2 separate regions of the Homo sapiens genome follow, and region 2 is linked to region 1. Evidence: promoter capture Hi-C in human tissues and cell types (Jung and others, 2019). All regions are on one chromosome and are shown on one strand. Each heading gives the region's core, a stretch centred on a gene start or on the middle of the fragment in contact. The rest is flanking DNA. Distances are from core to core; before and after follow the strand shown. Region 1 holds the start of PEX11A (peroxisomal biogenesis factor 11 alpha). Region 2 overlaps WDR93 (WD repeat domain 93).

Region 1 (4,018 bases), core at 1,228-3,727:
TCCTGCATATTACAGTAGGAAAATTAAAACTTATGTTTCACATCAAAATCTGTACTTAAATATTTATAGCAGCTTTATTTATAATGGCTTCAAATTAGAGACAACACAAATGTACTTCAGTGGGTGAATGGATAATGAATTATAATACATTCACATTGTGGAATAAAAAATTACAAACTACTGATGTGCACAACATAGATAATCTCAAATGCATTATGCTAAGTAAAATAAATCAGAAAAGAAAAGAAAACGCTACATACTATATGATTCAATTTATATGATATTGTGAAAAAGGCAGAATTGTAGGTATAAAAAACAGATGAGGCCAGGCGTGGTGGCTCACACCTGTAATCCCAGAACTTTGGGAGCTCGAGGTAGGTGGATCACCTGAGGTCAGGAGTTCCAGACCAGCCTGACCAGCATGGTGAAACACCATCTCTACTAAAAATATAAAAAATCAGCCATGCGTGGTGGCGCATGCCTGTAATCCCAGCTCAGGAGGCTGAAGCAGGAGAATCGCTTGAACCCGGGAGACGAAGGGTGCAGTGAGCTGACATTGCGCCATTGCACTCCAGCCTGGGCAATAAGAGCAAAACTCTGTCTCAAAAACAAAAACAAAAAACAGATGATACACATCTGTGTTTAGAAGCACCCTGTGCTCACCTCTATCATCTAACATATCTCTGTGTTGTACTTATCAGTTTACTGTGTTCCTTGTTAACCTATTACCCTACGACTAGAGTTTAGCACAGTGGTTGGTATATGGCCAGGACTCAATAAATTCTCATTGCTTGCAGAATTGCCCTGACCTGGGCCACGTATTTAGAGAAAACTTCTGGCTCTCTTCGAGGCTCTTTCCTCTACAAAAAATGAGTAACCCATGGGGCCAAGGAGATATGCTCACCCAAAGCCTAGTTTCCCTCTTCTGGAGTCTAGACCATGTTCAGGGTACCAATACCCCTGGAATTTACTGCCCAAATGACACCATGGCCTGCATGAGCCCTTCTCAGCTTTCACCTGAGGGCAGACCCAGCTGCTAATGTGAGCACTCCTCGATCTGAAAAGGTGGCAAAGGCATGGCTGCTTGCAGAGGTACGGGCAGACGTTGGATGTGGCTTGGAGTATCAGGATGGTATACAAGGCTCCTGGCAGGGAATGCAGGTGGGCACCAGAAACCAGAAAAGAAAGGGAAGTGGGAAAAGACTGGGAGCCATTTCTCCCCACACTGCCATATTCCAGCTGTGTTTCCAGGTATTCTAAGGAGTCTAGGGATTCTGAAGATGAACCTGGCCTTCTACATCATTATGAGGGTCTATTTGTCAATGTAGGAAAACAGACTATATTTTACTTTACAATTTGTTGCTTGATTTATAACTAAAATATTTAAACATACGGTGTGCTGGACTCCATTTGTACTCTTACCCAGGGCCTGCAAATGTTAGGAGCTGGCCTGACCAAGGGAATAAAGATTACGAAAATGTTCACCTTATTTTATTTTATTTTATTTTTTTGAGACAGCGTCTCGCTCTGTCGCCCAGGCTGGAAAGCAGTGGCACAATCTCGGCTCACTGCCACCTCCGCCTCCTGGGTTCCAGCGATTCTCCTGCCTCAGCCTCCCGAGTAGCTGGGATTACAGGCGCCCACCACCACGCCCGGCTACTTTTTTTGTATTTTTAGTAGAGACGGGGTTTCACCCTGTTGGCCAGGCTGGTCTCCAACTCCTGATCGCAGGTGATCCGCCCACCTCGGCTCCCAAAGTGTTGGGATTACAGGCGTAAGCCACAGCACCGGCCGACCTTATTTTGTGGTTATAGAGGGTACATTTTATAAAATTACTGCCACGGAGTGGGTAAGGCTCCTTTTCTTCAAGCCGCACAGAACGAATGTTCAGCGGTGCAATTTCATTGCAATCTATTTTTGCTTCACTTTGCTCATAATGACTCTTTTAGGATTTCCTCAGGTAACAATCTTCTTTCAATGTTCAATAATCCAAGCAGAACATTTTCTCACTTCATCCGCCTCCCATGCTAGGTTCACACTGTGAAATTGGCTTATCTCTGACCTAACCACTTCCTTCACCAGACATAGAGCTGGTGTAGCTCAAGGGAAAGAGGCACGGCGCTGGGAAATGATTAGGCCCCACCGTCCCAAGCAAGAGCTCAGGGGAGTTCTGAGGCTGGAGAGACCATTCGGGATATCACCCCGGGTTCCTGAGAACCTGAGATCTGCGGGGAGGCGTCAGGCATCCGGAAACGCCCGAGTCTGGGGAGACGGACCCCCTCAGACTTTCCTCTAGGAGACTCTACAGGTAAAGGGGAGTCCTGGGACTCGAGGGGAGCCCCGGCATCCAAAGGTAAGATCAGTTTTGCTCACCTGGCCGGGCGGCGTTGCGTCGCCTTGGTAACCACAACTTCCGGCTTGAACCGGAAGTCCGCGAAGTTGCTCTACAGAAAGTGTGCCCGCCCCCTCTGGGGCGGAGAGACTCAGCCCCTCCCCCTCAGCGGATAACCTGGGACTGACCGTTCCCTGGGGATCCGACGGGCCCCAGAGGACCCACGCCTGAGCCCCGTGCGACTCGTGGCCTTTGGGCTAGAAGCCATGGACGCCTTCACCCGCTTCACCAACCAGACCCAGGGCCGGGACCGACTCTTCAGGTGAGTCAGGTGCCAGCGGCCTCCGCCCCTTTCTCGCCCTAACTCGGCTCCCGTGCCTATTCCCCTGCACCCGGGAAAAAGGAGGTGATAGCCTAGTAGATGGAAGCAGGAAGGACGTTGCCAGCTCCTACGGAGGGAGTTTAGTATCCGAGCCCCTCCTTACCCTAAATTCAACGTGAGTGGGCCCAACGCACCCGCGTCCCGTCCTAGCCCCGTGCACGAAAGCCCCAGTGCCTGGCACCCTAGCCGCCTCGAGACCGCCGACGACGGGACACCGGCTGACAGATCCTCCTCCCCTCCTAACTTTGCTCTCCGGGCACAGAAAGATTGGTTCTCTCCACTCAACATTCTTCCGAGGGATCTCCTTTAAAGAGAAACTTTGGATTAGTATTTGTGGCTAGGGAAGCAAACCACTTGGTGTGACTTCAAATATCTCTCTTTTTTTTTTCTTTTGAGACGGAGTCTCGCTCTGTCGCCCAGGCAGTGGCGCGGTCTCGGCCCACTGCAACCTCTGCCTCCCGGGTTCAAGCGATTCTCCTGCCTCAGCCTCCTGAGTAGCTGGGATTACAGGCGTGCACTACCACGCCCGGCTACTTTTTGTATTTTTAGTAGAGACGGGGGTTTCGCCATGTTGGCCAGGCTGGTCTCGAACTCCTGACCTCAGGTGATCTGTCCACCTCGGCTTCCCAAAGTGCTGGGATTACAGGTGCGAGCCACCGCGCCCGGTCTCAAATACCTCTTGAAATGTTTGAGGAGAGACAGAAGTTCTCTTCCATTATTACCCAGGCTGTATCATTGAGATACTGCATGTGGAATAGTTTTGTAAATTGTAAAACAAAATATAGCGGGGATGAGACCACACCAACTGGATTGGGGGGAAATACAGTGGGGAGAAGCTCAGAAAGAACTAACTGCACCTCTAAGGTTCATGCTGTGCTACTGAAAATATTAAACAGAGATTGTGTCTCTTTTTCTTTTGGTTCCATAAGAAACGAAAAGAACTGAGAGATTGTATCTTTAATACGAATACAGTACTAGTTCATGATGTTTTAGAGATTTGGTTGATTCTTGCTTAATGAAAAAATATTTACAGTTGCAGTTTTATTTAACAGCTCTGCATTCTCTTCTGGGTGTGCAAGTGCTGATACAAACAGATCAATTAGAATGGCCCCAATAATGAGGCTTTTGGAAGCCATCTTTATGACAGCTATTGTTCCCAGTGTTTTGCAACTATGAACTTATATAACCCTCATCACAACCCTATGAGGTAGATACTCTAAATATTTTACCCACTTCAGATGGAGAAACTGAAGCAGAAAGAGGTTAATAGGTACTACAATGGCAGAACTGAGGGATTCACATCC
Region 2 (4,096 bases), core at 463-2,962, 45 kb before region 1:
TAAGGCACACAGAGCCATTCTTGGAAAAGATGAGCACCTGGGAAGCAAAGAGATGGTGAGGGGGGCTTCTACTGGACTCTGTCCCTCACAGGAAGGTCGTGTAGAGGTCACCCCAGTAAGGAATGAGAGAAGCAGCTGGACATAAAACCTCTTGGGCCCCAGCCTCTGGATCCATCCAGGGCTGCTGGAGACCTGCACACACATGTGTGCTTGGGGTCCCCCTCAGCCAACAGACCCTCCTCCACATGCTGTCTGCTCCAGGGCTATGCATTCCTCCCCTTTTTCCCAGCCTCTCTTCCAAGTTCTCTGCTTCTCTGCTGAAGAGCTCACCCTCCATGTAGCCAAGATTCCATTTCTCACCTGTGCTCCCAATGCCTTTCCTTCCCACTGCCTCAGGGACCTTGCTCAATCTAACAGCCCCTCCTGGCCTGAGATCTGAGCTGGGGATGCTCTCTTGCCTGGGCTCTTTCCTCTGCAGTGAACATACTAAACTCTCCCCATCCTTAGAAAGTCCCCTTTGGCCGGGCGCGATGGCTCATGCCTGTAATCCCAGCACTTTGGGAGGCCAAGGTGGGCGGATCACGAGGTCAGGAGATCGAGACCATCCTGGCTAACACGGTGAAACCTCGTCTCTACTAAAAATACAAAAAATTAGCCTGGCGTGCTAGCGGGCACCTGTAGTCCCAGCTACTCGGGAGGCTGAGGCAGGAGAATGGTGTGAACCCGGGAGGCAGAGCTTGCAGTGAGCCAAGATTGCACCACTGCACTCCAGCCTGGGCGGCAGAGCGAGACTCCGTTTCAAAAAAAAAAAAAAAAGCCCCCTTTGACCCAACAGCCTCCTCCAGCTGCCACACCACTTTCCCCTCCCCACACAAGAGGGTCTCTCCACACCCTGTCCACTCCCCCACCTCCTGCGTCTGTCTCCCAGCTTCAGCCACTCGTCTCCACCATGTTCTTGGTTTTTCTGCAGCACAGGACACTGCTCTCACTTTCTTTAGACTCTCCTCTCTGCTTGCAGGACTGTCCCCATGCAGTTTTCCCTGGGGCCCCTCACGGTCACTTTGTGAACTGATTTTCCAGGTCCTGTAAGTGATGGTAGTGCCCATGGGAACCTCTTCTCTATTCACTCCCTCTCTTTAACAAGGGGAACCTGCTGTACGCCCCACTTCAACCACCTCTCACTAACTGTACCTGGCTGGTGAGCATGGAATCTACATTTTCAGCCCTTGGCTCTCTTGGAGCCTCCCCTGGGGGTCCTGTAGGCCCCTCACCCTCCGTAGGGCCACACCAGGAATCACAGACTTTCTCTCCAGGCCTGAAGTGGGCCCTGTAAGGACTGGGGAATCACCTCTGCAAGCGAGGATCAACCGCGCACGCTTCCCTCTCCTTTGGCAACAGCCACAGGTAGTGAAGAATGTGGAGTCCATCGCCGAACTGAGATCTCTCAACTCTCCATCCCTGCTCTAAATATGCTGTTCCCATTCTCTGACCTCTCTGTTTGAGCCCCATCCCACACAGGGACACATCTGTATCCTTCTGCGCAGTGTACAGGACCTTCCATGGTCTGGCCCACCTGTCTTCCCGCCCCAGCCTCCTCCCTCTCCACATTCCACAGCAATCTCATGTGGCAGATACTGGGACTTCCTGCAGTGCCCGGGACACGTGGTGCTCTCTTGCCTCCATGGTGTTGCCTTCTCAACTCCTCTGGCTCAGCTCAGCTGTCACCTCCTCCAGAAAACACAGTCCTCCCCTGCTGCCAACTTCTGCAGGTTGAGTTAGGTGACCCTCTCTCTGTTCCATGCATCCATTAAAAAATCCCTATCACAGCCTTTCTCATGTTCTAAGGCAGCTGCCTGGTGACTTCTCTGTCTTCCCAAATGAGCTGTGTGCTCCATGAAGGCAGGTTCTTTCTCTTTCTATTTGTAAACCCGAAAGCTAGTCCAGTGCCTAACACATAACAGGCCTTCAATAAGCATTTTCTAAAGGACAGATGAACACATTCACAGAAGAGAAATGAGAGGCATGGGGCATTTACAGAGAGGCATGGGGAACCTACCATGCCAGGTAAGGCTGGGACTGGGGCCACGGCACAGATGGTTTTATCCAGGTGCTTTACAGGCCTATAGGACAGAAAATATACAGACATTCTCCTACTTTAAGAGTTTAAAAGTTTTGATATCCTCTTCTAGGCATATATCCTGGAGAAATTCAGAGAAATCAAGAAATATGTGAGGAGGCTGTTCATAGTAGCAAAAAATTAAGAACAATCCAAATATCTATTAGGAGGATGCTTAAGTCATTGTGGTATCTTATACAATGAAATATAATATGGTAATGAAAATAAAAGAACTGGAGCTACATGCATCAACATGTATGGCTCTTGTGAACAATGTTGCAAAGCAAGATGCAGAATAAATACCATTGAAAAACAAGTTGGAGGCTGGGTGCAGTGGCTCACACCTGTAATCCCAGCACTTTGGGGGCCCAGCACTTTGAGCCCAGGAGTTCAAGACCAGCCTGGGCTACAGAGTGAGACCGTGTCTCAAACAAAACCAAACAAAACAGAAAGAAAGAAAGGAAAGAAGGATGCACGGAAGGAAAGAAGGAAGGAAGGAAGGAAGGAGGGACGGAGGGAAGGAAGGAAGGAAGACAAGTTGGAGAATATATAGAATATGGTTTGCTTTGTAAGTTTCCTAAATATGCATAGCTAAATAATATACTGTTTAGAGATACAGTCATACAAATGTGGTTAATTCTTTTTCTTTTTTTAATAATTTTTGTTCTTTTCACAGAGAAGGGGTCTCACTATGTTACCCAGGCTGGTCTTGAACTCCTGAGCTCAAGTGGTCCACCCGCCTTGGCCTCCCAAAGTGCTTGGATTACAGGTGTGACCCTCTGTACCTGGCCTAAATGTGGTTAATTCTTAAGGGAAAGCAAAGGAATGATGAATTTAGAAAAATGGTGTGGTAGATTGAAAAGCAGTTGGCTGTATTTGGCAGTGACTCCCATCAAAAGATGGAGTCTGTTTTTCTACTGCTTGAATGTGGGCATGGATGTGGGATGTGCTTTGCCCAATGGGACATTAGCAAATGTAACATGAGCAGAAGCTTGAAAAGCATTTGTGTGCTATGGTTGCCCTCTCCTGCTGCTAGGAGCCCTTAGACTACCATGTGAGAAAGGCTGTACTAGTCTGCAGGAGAGACCATGAGGAAAACCGAGGTGCACTGGCCAATAACCTGCCAACTGCCAGGTGTGTGAGTGAAGCTATCTTAGAAGAGCTGTGAGCTGCCTGAAGGCACATTTGAGAGCCCAGGTGAGACCAGTAGAAGAAACGGACTGAGTCCAGTCCAAATTGCTGACCTACAGACTCAAGGACTAAACACTGACTATTTTCTTAAACCATTAAGTTTTGGGGTGGTTTGTTATTTAGCATTAGGTAATTAATAAGGTGTTTGGGGCGGAGCAAGAAGGATTGATGAGGGAGAGCCATGCAGGGAGCCCAAATGGAACTGGAGATTATCGATTTCCAACGGTTTCAGGGGAGTTGATCTCATTATTCTTTATTACACACACACACGTACACACATGCGCGCGCGCACACACACACACACACACATTATACAGGTTCATTTGCATGCATTAGGTATTTTTAAATGTTTAAAAGAGAGAGAGATCCCTGGAGAAACTGATGGAAGTTTACTGTGGGAGAAATGAGCCTCTTCTTGGCCGTATGGGATGGGAAGGATGTTGTCTTAATCCATTTTCTGTTGCTTATAACAGAATACCTGAAACTGGATAATGTATAAAGCAAAGGAATTTATTTCTTACAGTTCTGGAGGCTGAGAAGTCCAAGGTCAAGGGTCCACAGCTAGTGAGAGCCTTCTTGCTGGTGGGGACTCTCTAGAGAGTCCCGAGACGGCATAGGGTGTGACATGGTGAGGGAATTGAGTGTGCTCATGTTCTAGCTCAGGTATCTCTTCCTTTTCTTATAAAGCCACTATTTCCACTCCCATGATACCCATTAATCCATTCACCTATTAATCCATTAATGCATGAGTGGGTTAATCCATTCATGTGGGAAGAGCCTTCATGATCC

The links. Contacts are between HindIII fragments. The study calls those that stand out against the background at their distance.
Region 2: a fragment that was not itself captured here is called in contact with the fragment with the promoter of PEX11A in region 1 in 1 of the 25 tissues and cell types used here (thymus).

The regions. Positions count from the first base shown.
Region 1 is chr15:89,689,213-89,693,230 of GRCh38, reverse strand. PEX11A (peroxisomal biogenesis factor 11 alpha) reads left to right here and starts at 2,477. Exons shown (of 3, transcript NM_003847.3): 1 at 2,477-2,654. The coding sequence starts at 2,599. It overlaps WDR93 (WD repeat domain 93), which reads right to left and starts at 2,420. Exons shown (of 17, transcript NM_020212.2): 1 at 2,374-2,420. RefSeq lists an enhancer at 2,553-2,642. The HindIII fragment of the contact is 14,807 bases long and covers 1-4,018 here.
Region 2 is chr15:89,733,514-89,737,609 of GRCh38, reverse strand. It overlaps WDR93 (WD repeat domain 93), which reads right to left. Exons shown (of 17, transcript NM_020212.2): 14 at 2,057-2,120; 15 at 1-37. It also overlaps a transcript of MESP1 not described here. Among named protein-coding and RNA genes, the nearest start is that of MESP1, 16 kb to the left of the region's middle. The HindIII fragment of the contact is 7,254 bases long and covers 1-4,096 here.